2 separate regions of the Homo sapiens genome follow, and region 2 is linked to region 1. Evidence: promoter capture Hi-C in human tissues and cell types (Jung and others, 2019). All regions are on one chromosome and are shown on one strand. The core of a region is centred on a gene start or on the middle of the fragment in contact, and the rest is flanking DNA. Distances in the headings are between cores, read along the strand shown. Region 1 holds the start of CDIP1 (cell death inducing p53 target 1). Region 2 overlaps CREBBP (CREB binding lysine acetyltransferase).

Region 1 (3,235 bases), core at 458-2,957:
GTTACAGGCATGAGCCACCACGCCTGGCCAGAGTTCTTAAAATGACCTACAAATCTCAACATGACTTGGATCCAGCCTGCCCCACTGACATCCTCACCTTTCTGACTCTCTCACCCAAGGCAATCCCTCCCTCTGGAATGCCCTTCCAGAATAGAATGTCTTTTCAATTTCATGCCCCTGCCTCAGCATCGCCTCCTCTGAGAGGCCTTTTCTAACCAACCTGTCTAGTGGCACCACCCCGTAACTCTGTTAGGGCGTCCCTTCCTCTCCTTCACAGTCCTGGGCATTTTGTGGTTTCCTTGTATACTGTCTGTAACAAAGGAAGTACCTGAGCAAGTAGCCACCCAGTGGGTTCTTCTTCCTGGCTGCCCAGATAGAGCCAATGTATCAAGACAGGGGAACTGCAATAGAGAAAGAGTTTAATCCACACAGAGCTGGCTGAATGGGAGACCAAAGTTTCATTACTCAAATCAGTCTCCCTGGAAATTCAGAGCCTAGAGTTTTTAAAGGGTAATTTGGTAGATAAGCTGCCAAGGAGTAGGGAGTGCTGATTGGTGGGGTGGGAGATGAAATCACAGGGTGTTGAAGGATGCAAGAACTGGTTGAGTCAGATTACAGCTCTAGGTGGCCTTGGCTGGTGCATCAGACTGCAGGGTCAGAAAAACACCTAAGAGTACCAATCTTAGGTTTTACAATAGTGATATTATACCTAGGATCAACTGGGGAGGTTTAGAATCTTGTGGCCTCTGGGTGCATGACTCCTAAACCGTAATTTCTTTCTTTCTTTCTTTTTTTGAGATGGAGTCTCAGTCTCTTGCTCAGGCTGGAGTGCAGAGGCATAATCTCAGCTCACTGCAACCTCCATCTCTCGGGTTCAAGCAATTTTTGGGCTTCAGCCTCCCTAGTAGTTGGGATTACAGGTGCGTGCCACCATACCCGGCTAATTTTTGTATTTTTAAATAGAGACATGGTTTCACCATGTTGGCCAGGCTGGTCTCAAACTCCTGACCTCAAGTGATCCACCTGCGTCAGCCTTCCAAAGTGCTGGGATTACAGGCGTTAGCCACTGAGCTGGGCCCTAAACTATAATGTCTAATCTTGTAGCTAACGTGTTACTCTTACAAAGGAAGCCTGGTTCTCAGGCAACAAGGGGGTTTGTTTTGGGAAAGGGCTGTTAACTATCTTTGTTTCAATATTAAACTATAAACTAAGTTGCTCCCAAAGTTAGTTCTGCCTATGCCTAGGAATGAACAAGGACAACCTGGAGGTTAGAAGCAAGATGGAGTGGGTTAGGTCAGCTCTCTTTCACTGTCATAATTTTCTGTTGTAATTTTTGCAAAGGCAGTTTCAAGCGCAGGGACAGTGACCGTGTGGTTCAAGGTTTTATGTAATGCACCTCCCAAACTCAATAAATATTAGTCGCATAAAAGAAAAAATGCAGCCCTGGAGGAAGATGCCCTGCCCTGTTGCTGGCATGAGTGAAGAGGAGGCGCTCACAGGGACGGTTCTTTCCCTATTCTCCAGCCTCGTGTACATTGGGCAAACAGGCCCCGACCATCCCACGTGCTCAGCCCCAGCTCTAGGCCAAATCGCCTCCGCTCCCACTGACGTCATCACGGCGCATCACGTGCCTCCCGAGACCCCACCCCCCACCGTGACGTCCCGGGCCTCGGCCCTGGTCCAAAGTCTACCCGCCTCCTTGTGACAGAAGTGCGACTGCCAGCTGCCGAGGCGTTCGGTCCTGCTGTTGCGGCCGCTGCCCCAGGGCTGCGGGGACGGTGAGTCGACTGGACGCATTCGGAGACGGCTTCGCGCGGGAGCCCTCCTCCCCGGGGGAAGGGTCTGGGCGCCAGCTCTCCTCAGGTCGGGGCGTGACCTCGGACCGTGGCGCCCCCTCCCCGCCCCCGCCCGCGGCGCCTGGGCGGTGCATGCCGGGCACCGTAGTCCCCAGCCTCTCAGAGCGGGTTGTGGTGGGGGGGGTGACCGGGCGGACTACAAGTCCTAGAAGCCTCTGGGCGGTGGGGTGGGCGGTGGGTTGGGGGGTTTCGTTGTGCGCGCAAAGCCGCGCGGGGCTGAGGGTCTTGTTCTGCCGGCGCCTGTCCGGACCCGGGCCCCTCTCCGCTTTCGGCCGGCCTCGGGCACCGGGCTTCTGGAGGTAAAGCGGGGCCGGCGGTTGGGGCGCGGCATGGCGGGGCCCGTCCTCCCCTCAGGGCGCTGCCGAGACCTAGCGCGGCCCTGGGGATGTCGAAGCCGCTGCGGTGGCGGGGCCCGGGCGGGCGCCCCGCTGTGTGCCGCGGGGTTGTGCGCCCGGAATGGCAGCCTGCTCGCCCGCACGTTTTTCCGTCAGGGAAGGTTGTGGAAATTGCCATCTCCGTCTTGCAGGGCGAGACGGGGAGGGGAGGGGTGGGAGTTGTTTTCTCAAGGAAAGGGGGTCGAGGAGGAGCCCCGTGGCCGAGCCAGCCCCTGCCGAGCCCCGCGGGTGACCTTGGCCGTCCCGGAGCCCAGCAGTGTCCTGCACCCGCGCCCGGCTCGCCGACGTGTGGAGTCGGGATGTGGCGCTCGGCCGCGCATCCCCGGCGGAGATGGCGACGGCCTGGCCTAGCTTGGGGCTAGGAGTCGCGCCTTCGAGGACCTTGGCTTAGCGAGTTCCTTGGGGGGCTTCTCAACAGGTGTTAGATGAGGTGGGGCGAGTGGCTGTGAGTTCCTCCAAAGGTGGGCTCAAGATCCTCTGCGTCAGAACCACCTGGGGCTCTTGGGAAACGGGCAGATTCCTGGGGCCCACCCCAGGTGTTGGGATGCTGTAGTTCCGTCGCGCTGCCCAGGAATCTGCATTTAGTAGGCTCCCCAGATCATTCCCGGGCGCAGCTGGGGCTGAGAACCTGTCCCAGTGAGGGGGTTGGCGGGCCCGGGGGCAGGGACGTTCCATAGTGTTTCTGCCAGTTTCTTCTGTATTCTGGGGCCTGATGCTGGGCGGGGCGGTGCCCGGGCAAGTTACTGCTCTCCTGGGTTCTTTGCTGCTTCCCTTGGGGCCGATCTAGGTAGAACTGGGTGGAGGGAGGCGTGCCAGCTCTGCCTTGCCCTCTGCCCTTAATCGGAAAGGTTATGCCCAGTCACTTGCCAGTCTCAGAAGACTCCCCCTCTACACATTCAGTTACGAAAAACGTGAAACATACAAAAGTTGAAGGAATTTTACAGTGAACACCCACAGACCACCACCTAGAATGTAGAGTTAACA
Region 2 (3,235 bases), core at 294-2,793, 770 kb after region 1:
GAGGCTAAGGTTGAGGACGGCTGACCCTTGGGCACTTCTTAATGCTTAAGGTGCTTGCAAAATTAAAAGAACATTTGGAGACTTAGCACAGATTCTAACAATGAATGTAAACCCAGCAAGGAGCTGGGAATCCTCGGATGATGGGCGTCAGCTGCTCCAGAGGCATTAGGTATGGGTGTGCACAGAAGCTTGCCCTGGTCTCTGGAAACATCTCTTCTGTAGCTTGTGAGGGTGCTGTCCTTTCAGGGCACCTCCTCACCCTCTTTGTTGCTATGACACTTTGGTACTGTGCCCTCTGGCTCAGCTCTACCACAGCCTCGTTTAATGTCTCACTTGTTCCTGTCTTACCCAACCTTATGCCTTCATGTCCTCGTCCTTCCCTGGTACCCCTCACCATGCCACCGTCACCACCCCCACATTGATGCCGTTTTCTCTGGATATGGAGAAGTCTGTTCCTTCATCATCTTCATTGATTAATTGGGTGATTTCTTTTCAGTTTTCTGTTGCCTGTGCGTTCCATCTTATTTTACTTAAGAGTTTATTTAGCAAGTTGTAATTCTGTTTTCCTGTGGGTGCTTTTCCTAATGAACCGTTGTGGGTACATTTACAGGGATGAATTCATTTAACCCCATGTCCTTGGGGAACGTCCAGTTGCCACAAGCACCCATGGGACCTCGTGCAGCCTCCCCAATGAACCACTCTGTCCAGATGAACAGCATGGGCTCAGTGCCAGGGGTAAGTGTTCTCTTTCGCTGTGCTGCAGATAGCCCTCCCTCTCACATGGAACATTATCTAAGCAGCAGAATTCATGTCACTTGAGAATCCTGTGGTTCTTGTTCCTTTGAATTTGGGTTATGCTTTATTTCTTTCATCTCTCATTTTAAAAAAATTATTACTACACAGAATTATTTGACTGTTAGTTATTTTATTGGAATAACAAATTCATAGGAATGTGTGGCTTTGTGAGAATGTGGGAGTTCCAAGGCTGGAGAAGGCAGCCTCAGATATGTGGCCAGCAGGGAATTGTCAGCATCTGTTGACTGAGAGCTCGCTGTTCCGAGGCTGCTTTCTAAACACTTTAGAGAACTCATAGGCATGTCTTAAACTTTAAATTATAGCCTGCTATTGATTTCTATTCAGAGGACATTTTGAAGCTGGCTCATTTGAGAGATTGCCTGAGAAAGTGTGTAAGGTGCCCAGGAGCGCGGGAGTTCTTAGCAAGTGGTGGTCTCTTCCCATGAGGAAGGGCAGGATGTGAGCCCTGTGCTTGCCATCCTCTGGGGTTGTGAAGCCTTGGATCATTCTGGCTCACCTTGAAAACTCTGGCCGTCAGCTTCCGAACTACAGCTCTGGTGGTGCTTGTTGTCTCGTAGATGGCCATTTCTCCTTCCCGAATGCCTCAGCCTCCGAACATGATGGGTGCACACACCAACAACATGATGGCCCAGGCGCCCGCTCAGAGCCAGTTTCTGCCACAGAACCAGTTCCCGTCATCCAGCGGGGCGATGAGTGTGGGCATGGGGCAGCCGCCAGCCCAAACAGGCGTGTCACAGGTACTGTGCCCCACTGGGACCGTGGCTCCCTAGGAAATAAAATTCTTGTGTTAAGTTTTGGTTTTTTTTTTCTGTCTTCCTTCGTGGAAATTAAAATTCCAGAATGCACATTTCATGTCTTTGTATCAGCTTCTCTTTGTTTTCTCCACCTTTGTCCTGTAGTCCTTAACTCGTTTGGAATTTCTCTTATCCTTTCTGGGTTAACTATATGCAAAAGTGGGAATGGATTTAGAATTTTTGGTTTGTATGCTTTTGTGTTTTGATCTTTGAGTTTTTGTTTTCTTATTTTTTGTTTGTGTATTTTAAATTCTAACTTTAACGTGACCCTGAGAGGCATTAGGATTTTAAAAAGCGAGTGAGAAGGACCCATGAATTCACTCTTGATGATTTGGCTTTTGTTTCTTTTGACCTGTCTCCACTGCCAGGTGAAATCAAGCTAACAGAATCATTTCAATAGTTCCCTTCTTGTTAAATGTTTTTAATTTCTCAATCTAGAGCTGAAGAAATTGATTTTCCATTTATTCCTTCCTTTTTTCCTCTTTTGTTAGTTGTAGTGCGTATCATTGCTACTGTATACAAAATATACATGTATTTAAAACACACCAAATCCTCCCTAAAAGATAAAATTCTTGTTTTAAGTTTTTTTTTGTTTGTTTGTCTGTTTTAAGACAGGGTCTCGTTTTGTTGCCCAGACTGGAGTGCAGTGGTACAATCTCGGCTCTGCAACCTCCGCCTCCCGGGTTCAAGCGATTCTCCTGCCTAAGCCTGCCAAGTACCTGGGGTTACAGATGCCCGCCACCACACCCAGCTAATTTTTTTTTTTTTTTTTTTTTTTGTATTTTTAGTAGAGACGGGATTTCACCATGTTGGCCAGGCTGATCTCGATCTCCTGACCTCAGGTGATCCACCCACCTCGGCCTCCCAAAGTGCTGGGATTACAGGAGTAAGCTACCGTACCCAGCCTTGTTTTGAGTTTTTAATGTGAAATAATGCTGCATAAGTCATTATTATATATTAGATTTCCTCACTAAATGATTATTCTTAACTTTCCATAACATTTCATTTCTCTAGAACAAGGATTAGCAAACTTCGTGTAAAGGGCCAGATACTAAATATTTTCAGCTTTGCAGGCCATTCAATCTTGGTTTTCATCACTTCTGTTCTTGTAGTGCAGAAGCTGCTGTGGTACATAAATGAGGTGGCTGTGTGCCAATAAAGCTTTATTTACAGAAACAAGCAGCTCAGTGTGTTTGCCCTGGGAGATTGCCAACCCCTGCTCTAGAACAGTGATTCAGAATCATTTTTAAAATGTTCACAAATAATTCTGAAGTGTATCCCCAGTATAGAACCACTGCACTGAAACAGTTCTCTTTCAGTAACTAACGTGTGTGTGTGTGTGTGTGTGTGTGTGTGTGTGTGTGTTTGTGTTTCAGAGAGAATTTTTTTTTTAAATTTTTAATTGTTAAGGGTACTTATGGATGTATATATTTATGGTCAATAACTTTTATTCTTATTTTTATTTATTTATTTTATAGTCCCCAGGGAAGAAGCAACTTAAAAAAAAAATACCTTTTTCTAAGCTAAGCTTAGAAAATGTTAAAGAACATTGGGTACATGTTATAGAACATGAAGCTTATAGGCTGGGTCAATGTACAGTAGCTCCCCCAATCTGTCATTTCACT

The links. The method cuts DNA at HindIII sites, captures the fragments that hold promoters and counts their contacts. A contact is called where the count stands out against the background at its distance.
Region 2: a contact is called between a fragment that was not itself captured here and the fragment with the promoter of CDIP1 in region 1, in 1 of the 25 tissues and cell types used here (dorsolateral prefrontal cortex).

Annotation. Positions count from the first base shown.
Region 1 is chr16:4,537,245-4,540,479 of GRCh38, reverse strand. CDIP1 (cell death inducing p53 target 1) reads left to right here and starts at 1,707. Exons shown (of 6, transcript NM_013399.3): 1 at 1,707-1,778. It also overlaps a transcript of C16orf96 not described here. RefSeq lists silencers at 1,791-2,080, 2,091-2,310. The HindIII fragment of the contact is 9,452 bases long and covers 1-3,235 here.
Region 2 is chr16:3,772,069-3,775,303 of GRCh38, reverse strand. It overlaps CREBBP (CREB binding lysine acetyltransferase), which reads left to right. Exons shown (of 31, transcript NM_004380.3): 12 at 611-735; 13 at 1,374-1,553. Among named protein-coding and RNA genes, the nearest start is that of TRAP1, 56 kb to the right of the region's middle. The HindIII fragment of the contact is 3,238 bases long and covers 1-3,162 here.